Linked DNA regions of Homo sapiens: all the other regions are linked to region 1. Evidence: promoter capture Hi-C in 16 types of primary human blood cells and fetal thymus (Javierre and others, 2016). All regions are on one chromosome and are shown on one strand. The core of a region is centred on a gene start or on the middle of the fragment in contact, and the rest is flanking DNA. Distances in the headings are between cores, read along the strand shown. Region 1 holds the start of FANCG (FA complementation group G). Region 2 has its middle 11 kb from the start of CIMIP2B. Region 3 overlaps RUSC2 (RUN and SH3 domain containing 2). Region 4 holds the start of RUSC2 (RUN and SH3 domain containing 2). Region 5 has its middle 18 kb from the start of RUSC2.

What was found. Contacts are between HindIII fragments. The CHiCAGO score rates a contact against its expected background, and 5 or more counts as called.
Region 2: a contact is called between a fragment that was not itself captured here and the fragment with the promoter of FANCG in region 1, in 1 of 17 cell types (endothelial precursors). The highest score is 5.1, in endothelial precursors.
Region 3: a contact is called between a fragment that was not itself captured here and the fragment with the promoter of FANCG in region 1, in 2 of 17 cell types (monocytes and M0 macrophages). The highest score is 5.9, in monocytes.
Region 4: a contact is called between the fragment with the promoter of RUSC2 here and the fragment with the promoter of FANCG in region 1, in 2 of 17 cell types (monocytes and M2 macrophages). The highest score is 5.8, in monocytes.
Region 5: a fragment that was not itself captured here is called in contact with the fragment with the promoter of FANCG in region 1 in 5 of 17 cell types (M0 macrophages, M1 macrophages, M2 macrophages and 2 more); the score reaches 9.9 in M0 macrophages.

What each region holds. Positions count from the first base shown.
Region 1 is chr9:35,078,692-35,081,551 of GRCh38, forward strand. FANCG (FA complementation group G) reads right to left here and starts at 1,251. Exons shown (of 14, transcript NM_004629.2): 1 at 750-1,251; 2 at 460-550; 3 at 1-45. The coding sequence starts at 833. RefSeq lists enhancers at 273-880, 2,097-2,703 and a silencer at 956-1,121. The HindIII fragment of the contact is 2,060 bases long and covers 1-2,030 here.
Region 2 is chr9:35,573,443-35,576,302 of GRCh38, forward strand. No RefSeq gene overlaps it. Among named protein-coding and RNA genes, the nearest start is that of CIMIP2B, 11 kb to the left of the region's middle. The HindIII fragment of the contact is 7,332 bases long and covers 1-2,860 here.
Region 3 is chr9:35,553,549-35,556,408 of GRCh38, forward strand. It overlaps RUSC2 (RUN and SH3 domain containing 2), which reads left to right. Exons shown (of 12, transcript NM_014806.5): 3 at 1,512-2,153; 4 at 2,404-2,589; 5 at 2,760-2,860. Among named protein-coding and RNA genes, the nearest start is that of CIMIP2B, 8.9 kb to the right of the region's middle. The HindIII fragment of the contact is 1,113 bases long and covers 941-2,053 here.
Region 4 is chr9:35,488,641-35,491,500 of GRCh38, forward strand. RUSC2 (RUN and SH3 domain containing 2) reads left to right here and starts at 1,471. Exons shown (of 12, transcript NM_014806.5): 1 at 1,471-1,532. It overlaps LOC105376026 (a long non-coding RNA gene), which reads right to left. Exons shown (of 2, transcript XR_929580.4): 1 at 2,791-2,860; 2 at 2,479-2,616. RefSeq lists a silencer at 1,140-1,439. The HindIII fragment of the contact is 5,552 bases long and covers 681-2,860 here.
Region 5 is chr9:35,471,028-35,473,887 of GRCh38, forward strand. It overlaps the pseudogene ATP8B5P. Among named protein-coding and RNA genes, the nearest start is that of RUSC2, 18 kb to the right of the region's middle. The HindIII fragment of the contact is 1,104 bases long and covers 956-2,059 here.

The DNA.
Region 1 (2,860 bases), core at 1-2,500:
TGACAGTCAGCTCCAAGGGAAGAACAGGAACAGCTGCAGGGAGCCCTGGAGCAACAATGTTGGTCTTACAGACTGCTCCCCCATGGAAGATCCTCCAAATAAAATCCCAACTCAGAGATCACCCCACTCCAACCAAAACAGCTACAATAAAGAACCCACCCTCCAGCCAATTAGCTAAGGATTTAAAAAAAGAACCCAACCTTTGGACAGAGAGTCTGGAAAGGGCAAAAAAGTTATCCAGATCAGACCATCTTGGAAACCATTTTTCAAATGCCACTCTGTGAGTGTGTAAGGAAGAGAGGGATTTGCCTGTACAAAGATGATTCCACTCCAGTCTCCTCTGTGCCTTAAACAGGACTCCCTGCCCCGAGTAATTATATCGATCCCAAAAACGCAGGAGCGGATGTTTCTCTGGCTATGGAAGAGGGGAACTGACCATCCTGGGGAGGACCCGCCTACCTTGCAGACTATGGAGGAGCCCTCTGAGCCCTTCCAGTGCATCCTGAGCCAACTGCTGTCGCCTCAGAGTCAGACCGGAGTTCTGAGCCACCTGCCACATGAGGGAGGGGTTGTCACTGAGGATCAATCCTTTTTTCTCCCCTTGCAGCAGTGGCAAGGGATGCATTCTCCAGTCATTTCTGGCTCTTTGGTCAAGCTCAGTCCCTCCCCATCGGTTGGGGTAAATCCACTGCAAACCCGCTTTCAGGGATCTTGAGGCTGCAAACCGAGGGTGCCAGCAACCGTGTTACCTTGGCCTGTCGAACGAGCCGGTCATTCTTTTCCCTCCACAGGTCCAGGCAGCTGGAGCCCACAGAGGTGGTCTGGCGGGACATGGTGGCCGAGGCTGGGCCCGGAGACCAGAAGCGGACTTAGGAAGGGTGAAGCTGGCCTGCCCAAGCTCCCAACCCCAGCGGGGAGGGGCCTGGGCACTTCTGCACCCCGCCGAGCTCCCCTGCTTCTCTCGGGGTCCCAATCCACCCGCCCAGGCTTTCCAGGACAGATGGGACGCTCTCTCCCCGCGGCCCGCCGGGCTCTCAACCTCGCCTCTGGTTGGCCGGGTCTGCGAAGCTCTGGGCTGCGGTTGGTCCTCTTGAAGAGTTAGTTCCCGCGGGAAACTCGGGGAGGAAACGAGTCAGCAACCCCAAACAGGCTTAGGCGGGCTAGAAGCCGGGGTCGTGTCTGACTGGGGCAGTCGCACGGCCGGCGGTGCGGCCCGCTCGGCTCTCGCGGAGGCCACAGCCTCGAGAAAGGGTGGGCGGGAGCGAGTTTCGGCCCCACAGTCCGTGGCTCGGCCCTTCCTCGCTGCCACACCCCCAGGTCCTCCTGGGTTCCCGCTTCCACCGAGGGCCGACTGCGAGGTGCATGCTGGGAGTCGTAGTACCGCACCGGGGCGGAACAGCTCCGCCCCGGCGGATGGTGTTTCCAGAAAGCGGTAACTGGAGACGAGGGCGCTCCGTAATCGTCCATCCTTTCTCTGCTCACTGTCGAGCACCAACACGCTCACCAAGGTCGGCTTTCTACCGCGTGTAGTCTGCTGGCAGTGCCGCTCTGTACTTGCACTGCTCAAAAGTACCTGCCCAATCATTTCAAATTAAATGGAGCTAGGAGAATTGAATATCCATATGCAAAAAAAAAAAAAAAAAAAGACAGGAAAGAAAAGAACGCGACCATACATACGTACATAAAATCAACTCAATGGATCACAAACTAAATATAAGAGCCAAAAATATAAAACTTCTAAAAGAAAACGTAAAGCAGCCTAACTAACATGGTGAAACCTTCTCTACAAAAATACAAAAATTAGCAGGGCGTGGTGTCGTGCGCCTGTAATCCCAGCTACCCCGGAGGCTGAGGCGGAAGAATCGCTTGAACCCGGGTGGCGGAGGTTGCAGTGAGCCGACATCGTGCCATTGCACTCCAGCCTGGGTGACAGAGTGAGACTCCGTCTCAAAAAAAAAAAAAAAAGAAAACGTAAGAGAACAGCTTTATGACCTTGGGTTTGGCAACAAGTTGTTAGACACAGCACTAAAAGCTTGTACAATTTAAAAAAAAGTTAACTTTATTAAAATTAAAAACTCTTGTACTACAAAGACATCATTAAGAAGTCATACGCTGGGGCCGGGCGCCGTGGCTCACGCCTGTGATCCCAGCACTTTGGGAGACCGAGGCGGGCGGATCACGAGGTCAGGAGATCGAGACCATCATGGCTAACACGGTGAAACCCCGTCTCTACTAAAAATACAAAAAATTAGCCGGGCGATGTGGCGGGCGCCTGTAGTCCCAGCTACTCGGGAGGCTGAGGCAGGAGAAAGGCGTGAACCCCGCGGGCCAGAGCCTGCAGTGAGCCGAGATCGCCCCACTGCACTCCAGCCTGCGCAACAGCGAGACTCCATCTCAAAAAAAAAAGAAAAGAAAAGAAAAGAAAAGAAGAAAAATCATAGGCTGGATGTGGCTCATGCTGTAATCCCAGCACTTTGGGAGGCTGAGGCTGGAGGATTCCCTGAAGCCAGGAGTTCAAGACCAGCCTAGGCAACAAAGATGGTGTCTTTTGTAGAGACATTATCTCTACAAAAAATTTAAAACATTAACCCTGGCACAATAACACACCTGTAGACCCAGCTACTTGGGAGGCTGAGGTGGGAGGAGCCCTTGAGCCTAGGAGTTCCAGGTTGCAGTGAGCCATGATCACACCACTGCCCTCCAGCCTGAGTAACAGAGTGAGACCCTGCCTCAAAAAAAGAAAGGTCACAGTCACAGAGTGGGAGAAACTACTTGCTAATTATATACCTCATAAGGGACTGGTATCCCTAACACATAAAAACTCCCAAAACTCAAGAAAAAGATTTTTAAAAACAATCTT
Region 2 (2,860 bases), core at 251-2,750, 500 kb after region 1:
AACTTTCAGAGAAATGATGTGAAATGATGGGTACGAGAGTTTACCGTACATGAGGAGAGCATGCAAACTCCATATAGACAGTGGTCCTGGCCTGAATCAACCTTTTTTTCCCCTGGCCAGGTGCAACGGCTCACGCCTGTAATCCCCATACTTTACGAGGCTGAGGTGGAAGGATCACTTGAGCCCAGGGGTTCAAGACCAGCCTAGGCAAGACGGGGAGACCCCCCTCTCTACAAAAATAAAAAATAAAATTTAAAAAATTAATTTAATTAAAATTAATTATCTGGACTAATTAGCCAGGCAAGGTGGTACACACCTGTAGTCCCAGCTACTCAGGAGGCTGAGGTGGGAGGACCGTTTGAGCCCAGGAGTTTGAGGCTGTAAGTGAGCTATGATCACACCGCCACACTGCAGTCTGGGTGACAGAGACCCGGTCTCTATAAAAATAAAAAGTTTAAAAAATGATAAAAATAAAATATTTTTTCATATCAATGTTATAAAGTAACAACAGTGAGTGAAACATCATTTGAGAACCTGCTGTACAACTTTCTGTATGTCAATAAAGTGATTTTTTAAAAAGGGAAATCATCAGAGGCCAAAAACTAGGCAAAGGATAGAAGGCACTTTTGGCTTAATGGCATTGGCCAAGCCACACAAACTTGGAGGTTCATTTTCACAGGTTCATGAAGTACTGAGAAAAGGAGATAAAACTCAGTGACCACCCAAGATGGAGAGTCTAACAGAAAATTTTTCCTGCATAAAACTGGCATGCATCAAGTTATGTCCCTTTAGTCTTTTTTTTCTTTTTCTTTGAGATGGAGTCTCATTCGGTCACCCAGGCTGGAGGGCAGTGGTGCAATCTCGGCTCACTGCAACCTCCGCCTCCTGGGTTCAAGCAATTCTCATGCTTCAGCCACCTCAGTAGCTGGGATTACAGGCGCCGCCACTACACCCAGCTAATTTTTGTATTTACTTTAGTAGAGACTAACTTTCACCATGTTGGCCAGGCTGGTCTCAAACTCCTGACCTCAAGTGACCCGCCTGTCTTGGCCTCCCAAAGTGCTGGGATTATACACATGAGTCACCGCACCCCACCTTGCCCCTAGAAATCCATCTGCCCCCCAAATCCTTCCTCAGGGGACTACAAAGAAAATTGCCTATCTCAAAACTTGGTACCAAGTGAAAAAGGGGGACATATTTCCCCTAAAACTTCATAACTACAAGCTGGCTCATGCGTGATTTGCAGATGGAATTCACTCTACCTGAGTAGTCTGAAATACTATCAAGATAATGAGGTAGGAGGTGGGACTGGACTCCAGAGGCAGGGCTCAGCAGCGGACCAAATTGAGGACTAGCTAAAACAGGGATGGGGCAGAAGTGGTTTTCCATATGACATGGCCACCAGTGTGCTATGTCAGTTTACCATTGCCATGACAACACCCAGAAGTTACCACCCCTTTCCACAGCAATGACCCAATGAACTGGAAGTTACCACCCTTTACATACAGAAATTACTGCATAGTCCACCCCTTAATTTGCATGTAGTTAAAAGTGGGTATAAATCTGAATGCAGCACTGCCTCTGAGCTGCTGCTCTGAGCATACAGCCTATAGGACAGCCCTGCTCCACAAGGACCAGTACCTCTGCAGGTTTATTAGGATCTTGGAAGAGCATAATGGGAAAAGAAAGATGTACTCTGTTACCAAATTTTTTAAGTATACACTGCTGCTTCAATAAAAGTTGCTGTCTAACACCACTGGCTCATCCTTGGATTTTCTTTCCTGGGCAAAGCTAAGAACCTCCCAAGGCTAAGCCCCAATTTGGGGGCTCACCTGCCCTCCCATCATCTGGTGATCAATGAAAGGAAAAAGATAATGAGCAAGAGGCAGCAAGTCAGTGGAGACAGTGGCAGTCAGCAGACAGGTGAGATGGTGGGACAGCAGAGACGGTGGCAATCAGCGGTCAGTGGAGAGGTGACGACTATGAGAGACAGCAACTGGGAAGACAGTGAGAGACTGACAAGACCAAGCAGAGACAGCGAGAGACCGCAAAGCGGTCTGTGATCAAGGCTGCAAGAGCTATAACACTGAGGCTGTAACAATAAAGAGCTGCTAACACTAACCAAAGGCTCTTTTCAGAGCCATCATTTTCCCTGGCAGGCGGCAGGGCCAAGCAGACACACTAATGGCCATAATGTCACTGCCTCATGTGAGCTCTGACCATGGCAGGCCAGTGGGTTACCAGTCCCTATGCTTGCCCCCTGTGTGACAGCTGAGCCCACCCAAGCTGGGGGGTCCTGGAGGGACCTTCACCAGGGTCCCACATGAAAGACTGGCTGGTGCCATTTGGCTCCTATGGATGGGTAAGTGTCCCTTCTTCCCCTACTCCATAACATCTAGTGAGCTGGGGAATAAAAAGCCTTCGGCTAAGTGGTTAAAAGTCCCCCACAGTATGAGTGCCCTGAGGCACATCCTTGTGACCTCTCCCCCCTGTGCTTTCTTCTCTGACTCCATATTATTGTTCCACCAATCATTTTATTTTTATTTCGAGTCCAAAAATTTACGTTTCATTTGAAGCGTTATGTTTCCTTTTGACTTTCTGTTAACTGTGTTTGAGCAATTGTTTAAGGCTGGATGTTTAGTTGTGCTCTGTTGCGTCAACTCTGGGACACCAGAGTCACATTGTTCTATGACCCCAACTTGGTCTTGGGTTCACTGTTGGCCACTCCCTTGGTGCCCCCAGGTTTTTGGCATTTGGTGAGGGGACCCTCATTGGCTGAAACAGGCACTCTGGGTTTCCAGCATTGGTATGATAGGCCACTCCCAGATGCTCTGGGGTTTTCAGGATTGACATTCCCTCT
Region 3 (2,860 bases), core at 247-2,746, 480 kb after region 1:
TTGCCAGAGGGGCTGACGTAGTCAGAGAAGGTCTTATTGAGGGGGTGATATTTGAGCTGATGCCTGAATGGTGAGAAGATTCAGACAGAAAGAAAAGCAGGTGCAAAAGGCCCGGAGATGTTCATGCATCTGGTGTGTTTAAGGACGGGGAAGTGTGGCTGGAGCACAGTGGGCCAGGGAGAATGCAGAGTCTGTGTAAGCAGTGACTGGGTATAGCAGGAGGGTGGAGCTTGAAAGTGTCCCCTGGGAGTGATTCAGAAGCACCTCCCTAATGGGATTGTGGTCCCCATCCCCTCTGACTCTTTGATGTAAATAAGATGAGGGATAGGAAAACCTGGCCTGATACAATTTCACATGTAGTACAATGTGGTAAAAAGAACAGTGGCTCTGAAATCAGACTCTGGGTTAGGCAGAATTCTAGCTCTGCCACTTCCTAGTTGTTTGACCTTGAGCAAGTGCTTTAATCTGTCTACATTTCACATTTCCTAATATGTCAAGTAAGAGAACTAATTCCCGCCTCGCAGAGCTACTGAGCCCCACTGCTGGTGAGCTTTCACCAGGGCTTTAGGCCGGGTGCGTGCTTATAGCGCCATCTTACGTTTATTCGGAGATCTACAGTGTTTTGTTGGAAGTGCAGTCCATCCACTGTCCCACTCCAGTGTCCTGGAGTTTTGTGTTTAGTTCTGAGCACCACGTTTTGAAGGACATTGACCTGAAGACTGCCTGAAAGAACAGGAGAGGCCCAGCCTTGGGGAACATACCTCCGTTCAGGGGGAGCAAATGTGGACTCTGAGGTTCCAATGCCAGGATCGTGAAAAGAGTGGGAGTGGGGGTAGATACAGATAACAGGTAGGCTGCAAGTAAAGAAATATCTTACTATGGTTCGATATGCTCAGGAATGAAATGTGCTGGCATGATTGGAGATGGGATAATGAGCAAAAGCTTGAAGTCAGTAACATCTGAAACATTTTCATCACTGAAAATGTGTGTGACTGTGACTCCAAGACTTAGAAACAAAGAAAATGGTTCTGCCATTGATAGAAATGGAAGTCATCGGAAAAAAGGAGAAAGGTGATGGATAAGCGGTTATAGCACATTTTAAGTGAAAGCAGAACTATAAAGCAGAATGATCTGGAGATGAAGAGGAAGGTCCAGGCTAAAGCTGTGGGTTTGGGAGTCATCCCGTAGAAGTCTGAACTCAAAACTTCTCAAGAAATAAAGTGTAAGGTGAGATGCAAGAGTTGAGCCTTAAGATACACTCACCTTTGGAGTCAAGAAAATGAAGAGGGACTGAACAGCAGAGAGGTACAAGACAGTCCAGCACCATAAAAGCAATAGGAAGCGTTTTACAAAAGAGGGGAGCAGTGTCCCATTCCACGAACTTCTACCCCATTCAATTCCTGCCAGCCAGGTCCCTGCCCCTCTCCCCTCTCCCATCTCTGCTTCTGGGTTTTCTCTCATATGGGTTTCAGTGTCTGTCTACTGATTTCTTCTCCATCCCTTTGCTACAGGGGGTGGCACCGAGAGCCGACCAGTCCTTCGCTACAGCAAGGAACAGAGGCCAACCACACTGCCCATCCAGCCCTTCGTGTTCCAGCACCACTTCCCCAAGCAGCTGGCCAAGGCCCGGGCCCTCCACAGCCTTTCCCAGCTCTACAGCCTCTCAGGCTGCAGCCGTACACAGCAGCCTGCCCCACTGGCTGCCCCTGCTGCTCAAGTCTCAGTCCCAGCTCCCTCAGGGGAACCGCAGGCATCCACTCCCCGAGCCACTGGCAGAGGTGCCAGGAAAGCTGGGTCTGAGCCAGAGACCTCTCGGCCATCGCCCCTGGGCAGCTACTCCCCCATCCGGAGTGTTGGCCCCTTTGGGCCCAGCACTGACTCTTCTGCCTCCACTTCGTGCTCCCCTCCCCCAGAGCAGCCCACAGCCACAGAAAGCCTGCCCCCATGGAGCCACTCCTGTCCTTCTGCTGTCCGGCCTGCCACCTCCCAGCAGCCGCAGAAGGAGGATCAGAAGATACTGACCTTGACTGAGTACCGGCTCCATGGAACAGGAAGCTTGCCGCCTCTGGGCTCCTGGCGATCTGGCCTCAGCCGAGCAGAGAGCCTGGCCCGGGGAGGTGGTGAGGGCAGCATGGCCACCAGGCCCAGTAATGGTACGAGCTCCAGCATCTCCCTACCCAACCCGCCACCTCACGCAAGCACTTCCACCACCTCCCCTTTGAGTGGTTGCTTACACTCTCACCTGGGGCCAGAGGTTAGGATGTCTGCATCCCTCCCTCAGCATCTGTAGATAATATCCACAGATAATCTAGTGTTTCATATGGGCCCACTGGGTGGATGTGAAACTCTGTCTCGCTGTCTCCTGCCAACTCTTGTCTTTCTGCTAATCTGTTCTGCTTCCAGCCAACCACCTATCCCCTCAAGCCCTCAAGTGGCGGGAATACAGGAGGAAGAACCCACTAGGGCCACCTGGTTTGTCAGGGAGCCTAGACCGAAGATCACAAGAAGCTCGGCTGGCCCGAAGAAACCCTATCTTTGAGTTCCCTGGCTCCCTCAGTGCTGCCAGCCATCTGAACTGCCGGCTGAATGGTGTGTGAGCAGGGTCCCCAGTACACCCGGGGCAGGCTCTGCCATGGCTGGAAAGGGCTAGAGAAGGGGTCAGTCCCAAAGGAACGTGTCTCAGACGGTACGAGGCACTGAACTGGCCTGGAACTCCTGCACTGAGAGTTGCTCAGGATTGATTTTTCTCTTCTTTCCAGGCCAAGCAGTGAAGCCGTTACCACTGACCTGCCCTGACTTCCAGGACCCCTTTTCCTTGACGGAGAAGCCTCCAGCTGAGTTTTGTCTGTCCCCAGATGGC
Region 4 (2,860 bases), core at 221-2,720, 410 kb after region 1:
AATTCGTAGCCTGCAATCAGTCTGATTGGTTGCAGAAAGCAGCCAAGCAGAGGCTGAAGTGAAGTTACAAAGGTCGCACACCTGTGCAAACATCTGATTGGTTGCAAGAAGCAACCAATCAGAGGCTAGGGTGAAGTTACAAAGTTATACTTCTATGCAAAGTTAGACTCGGCTGCAGTCAGTCTAATTGGTTGCAGATAGCCAATTTCCCATCTGCTGGGCAGAAAAGTTGGGTGGGGGGTTTGTTACTTAGGTGTGGAAAGTTAGGGTTTTCCTTTCAATTTAGTTCCAGGAAGTTGGCATGAACCAGTCTTAGGTTCCCTGCCTCCAGTCCCTATTCTCCTGCCTCAGAACCATCACCCAACATCCCTAGTGGGTAGCAGGGGAGAACCCTCTCCTGCCCCGCTCATGCCTAACTACCTGTAACAGTTTGGCTGTGTCCCCACCCAAAATCTCATCTTGAATTGTAATTCCCATAATCCCCCTGTGTCAAGGGCGGGAACAGGTGGAGGTAATTGGATGATGGGGCTGGTTTCCCCTGCGCCCTTCTCGTGACAGTGAGTGAGTCCCACAAGATCTGATGATTTTATAAGCGTCTGGCATTTCCCTTGCCTGCACTCACTCTGTCCTGCCACCCTGCGAAAAGGATGGCTACTTCTTTGCCTTTTGCCATGATTATAAGCTTCCTGAGGCCTCGCCAACAATGCGGAACTGTGAGTCAGACCTCTTTCCTTCATAGTATTTCTTCATAGCAGTGTCAGAACGGACTAATACAGTGGGTTTCCCATAACATTTGCAGGACTGCCTGCCCCATCCCCCTCTGGCTGTAAACAGCAGGAGTCACACACAGGCATCTTCCATGTCCCCCACACATCCGGCCCTGAAGGGCAGGGGGCGCATGGGTTCTACGTTTCATCAGGGGTTCCGAACCCTGGCTATGCACTGGAGGCCAACCCCACCTCACCCCACCCCACTCCACCCCAGTGGTTCTGAGTCGGTCCAGTGTGAGGTCAGCCCTCCTTCTGTTGTTTGGTTAGTTTCCACACTAGGTTCTACTGGGAAGCCAGCGTTGAGAACCGCCGCCTCAGGCGAAGCTGGGACTCACACCCACCGGCCCTGGAGGCCCGCGGAAGGTTTCCCTGGGTTCCAGCACCCGGGAGCCGCGCGTCGCCAGGCACCACCCCGCGGGGGCGGGCGCGGGCCGCAGAAGATTGGGCCACGGCGGAAGCCTCTCCGCTCCCTTAGCGGGAAAGCTCTGCGCGTGACTCGGCTGCGCCCATCGCTGCGGGAGCCGGGGAGGGGGCGAGCACCTTAGGCCGGGCGGACCGAACCAACGCGCCGCCCGGAGGGGCGGCCTGAGGGCAACCCAGATCGGACCATCGCGCCACGCCGACAGGGGCCGGCCTTTCCAACCCGCCCGGAGGGAGGGGCCGCCGGCGCCTCTAGCCTGCAACGCGACCCCTGGAGGGCGAGACACGCCGCCGCCGCCGCCGCCGCCGGCGCGGAAGGACGAGGCTGAGGCGAGAAACGAGGTAGGAACGCCTCTCCGGAGGCGGGCAGGGTCCCACAGACCCACTGCCCCGCGTTCCAAGGTCTCCCTTAGGGGAGGGCCTGTCTTCCCACCTATGTGCCTTCAGCGCCTGCCCTTCCCTTCAGCCCTTCCCCCTCGGCTGCACCCGCCCTCTGCGTCCGCCCCGACCCCCTGGGCAGACCTCGTCCCCAGCCCTTCTGACCCTTGGCCTTCTCCTGACCCTTCAGCTCTGCGTCCACCGGACCTTCAAACACCCAGCACCCACCGTCCCTTTGGGCGCCACCCCAGATGCATCCCCAACCGTCTCCTCAAACTGCCCCCTTGGGGACACCCTCCCCCCACAAAACGACTCGCGCCCAGTAGTCACCTTGGTACCCCAAGTCCCTGTGACGGCTTTGGGGAAGCGTGGCCGCCCGGCACCCAGGCCGGCGACTGCAGCGGGGGCCTCCCTACTGCCAGTTCCCGGCCGGGTCCTCTGCTCCCTCCACCCTTTTAGCCCCTGCCTCCCTTTATTATCCGCCCGGCGCCGGCGTTGCTTCAGTCTCTGTCTCTCTGTCATCCAGTTTTACCTGGAGAAAACCTTTGGCTTGGCAGTAACCGTCCCCTACTACTGCACTCACTTGCCGCGAAGGGCACGGTGATCCTGTTGCCCACAGTTGGCTGTGGCCCTCCAGGCCGGCCCTGCGGACACGGGGAACTGTCCTGGGGGCAAGGACGGTACACTACTCATCTTTGTATCCCCGGTCCCCAGCACGGTGCCTGGCACATGGTAGTGTTGCTGGTGGAGGGTCTTCACTACCAGTTGTCCTTTGCGTTTTGAACAAGTAATTGAGCAGCGGAGGAATGAAACGCAGGAACAAGTAGATCTGAGTCAGGCAAGGATTACCACTATGTGAACAGTGTCCGTGATAAAGAACACAGGCCTTAAAAAAAAAAAAAAGGCGGAATTTACAAAGGACAAAGGGCCTGAAACCTGTTTTTATTTATTCCTAGGTGGGTGACCTGAGCAGATTTAGTTTCCTGGGGGTTTGGGTTCCACGCGGAAGCAGGTGGTATCGCTGAGGGATGAAACAATGGCTGGAAAGCTGTAGGAGTTGATAAGGTAGAAAGTAGTTACCTAATTAGTAGTGGCATTATTGTAACTGGGGCTCAAAGTATTAGCAAATAAAAGTAGTGACTGGATTTTCTTAGCCGGCTCCTTAGATATTAAGCAGTGGTGGATGGCTTAATGGAAGGAAGAGCAGATCCAAACAGTATACCTGGTATTCTGTTAGTTATGCCCGTCCTGCTGTATGGCCAGCCACTGTTTCTCTTCTGTTTTGAGCCAGG
Region 5 (2,860 bases), core at 258-2,757, 390 kb after region 1:
TAATAAGATTGGGCAACAGTTTATATATCAACTGGGATCGGAAGATGTTTTATGCACCAAGGAACACACCAGCACAGGCTCGTACTACCACCCTTACTGAGGAGCTCGGCCAAGTCAAATATGTGTTCTCTGACAAAACAGGGACTCTGACTCAGAACATTATGATTTTCAACAAATGTTCTATTAATGGGAAGCTCTATGATATGCATGTCTTCCTGCTTTCCCCAAGTCCTGGGAAATTTTTACTTTGCAAATTGTTTTCAAGACTAATCTAGCTCTAAATCTGTAAGCCTCTGGAATTCACATTTATCTCCTATTCTCACAACTGTCTCTATTCTCTAAGCAAAGACCACCCAGCCCAAACAGTTCTAACCAAAAAGCATTTATTTAGCATCTTATAGGTACAATCTATTGTGTTGGGCATTGAGAATACCGAGATGTGCAAGACTTAGTCTCTGTCCTCAAGGAGTCCCCAATGTCTATGTACTCAGTTCACTCCCACTTTAAATCAGATGGATGTTGGTCAAAGGGTACAAAGTTTCAGTTAGGCAGGAGGAATAAGTCTTCAAGATCCATTGCACAGCATGTTGATCCTAGTTAATAATAATGTATTGCATATTTCAAAATTACTAAAAGAGTTTTAAATGTTCTCACTACAAAAAAATAAGTATGCAAGGTGATAAATATGTTAGTTAGCTTGATATAATCATTCCATGGTGTATACATATATGAAAACATCACATTGTATCCATAAATATATACAATTAGTATTTGTCAATTAATAATAAAATTAAAAATAAATTAAATGGAGCAGTCAATGTATTACTGAAGCTGCTAATTTCTTGATTCCCCTTTACAGCAATAAATATTATTGAGAGAAACCATCAAAGGGTAGTCAGAGTTTGATCAGTGTCTCCCAGGCCCAATCCCTTATTTATCTTATGCCTTAAGCATAAGCTTGTTTTTGTGATAGAGTTAAGTCCTCATGTGTGTGAACAGTCATACCCAGTGTCCTAGCTAACAGAGGAAGGTAATCACATCTAAAAAACTAGAACACATGGAATAATCTTTCTGGGGTGACGAAAAAGTTTAGAAACTTGAGAGAGGTGGTAGTTGCACATTGTAAATGCACTAAATGCCTCTAAATTGTACACATTAAAATGGATAATTATATGTTAACTAAGTAAATTTCATATCAATAAGTAATTGAAATTTTTTAATTAAAAAAAGCTAGGCCGGGTGCGTTGGCTCACGCCTGTAATTTCAATACTTTGGGAGTCTGAGGCAGGCGGATCACCTGAGGTCAGAAGCTCGAGACGAGCCTGGCCAACATGGTGAAACCCCATCTCAACAAAAAATACAAAAATATTAGCCAGGCATGGTGGCACATGCCTGTAATCCCAGCTACTTGGGAGGCTGAGGTGGGAGAATTTCTTAAACCCGGGAGGTGGAAGTTGCAGTGAGCCAAGATCATGCCACTGCACTCCAGCCTGGGTGACAAGAGTGAAACTCCTGTCTAAAAAAAAAAAAAAAAAAGACTAGAGCACTCTAATATTTCCTATTATTTCCTATATTTCCTATTATTTGTTTGGTAACCATGTCAAACAAATTTTCACTTATATAAACTCTGAAGGCTTATTTTTGGATGAGCTGATTTGGGTGAGCCTCTTAATTCTCTGACCTGACCATATACTGGGTAAAGTTGAAAAGGACCATGAGTGTTTCCATGCTTGGCATCAGACATGTCTTCTACCCCTATTCAGTCTGTCATCCACTGGTCAAGAATCCCAAACATTCTAAAACTGTGTCCACATCTCTTCTGGGTAACTCTTATGATTGGAGGGCTTCCTGAGGTGTGAAGTCTATCACAGATCCAGTGACTAACTTCTAGCTTCATCTTATTCTCACTTAGGGGAGAAGAGTTGAGGCCCAAGCAAACCTCTTCTTACCATTGGCTTAGGGAAAGGAGCTTACTGGGAACTGGGAGCTAGGTGGCCTGAGGAGACTGGGGGGCAGGCATCTTGACTGCAAGTCTAGGATGAAGGAATCAGAATAAATAAGCTTTTAAGGCCCCTCCTTTAAATCACCATATGACCCAGCAATTTGATTCCTAGGTATATACCCCCAAAACTTGAAAACAAGAACTCGGATACATGTATACCAACGTTCATTGTGACATTATTCGCATAAGTCCAGAGATAGAAATAACCCACATGTCCATCCACAGATGAATGGATAAAGAAACTGTGGTATAGCATATACATACAATGGAATGTGAATCATCCATAAAAAGTAATGAAATTTGATACATGCTACAACATGGATGAACCTTGAAAGCATTATGCTAAGTGATGTAAGCTAAACACAAAAAGACAAAAATTTTATGATTCTACTTATGTGAACTATCTAGAATAGGCAAATTCATAGAGACAAAAAATAGACTAGAGGTTACTAGGGGCTGGTGATGGGAAAAAATGGGAAGTTTCTGTTTGGGGTGCTGAAAAAATGTTGGAAATATATAGTGGTGATTGTTGCACAACATTGTGAATATAATTAATGTCATTGCATTTTACATTTAAAATAGTTAAAATGGCAAGTTTTATGTGATATATATGTATATTTTTTTAACAACAATTTAAAGAAATTCAAACCCTCCTTTAAAACCCTTGCCAAGTCTCTGCTGTGTTCACTTACCAACAGGTGATACTTATGACAAGGATGGACAGAGGGTGACGGTCTCTGAGGTGAGTGATTACAGCTCCATGGGAAATGCATGTGGGAGCTGAGTGAGGCTGTGCTTCAGAGAAGCATCCTTAATACAAATCGAGACTCCCTTAGCCACTGAAATATTAAAGCTTTT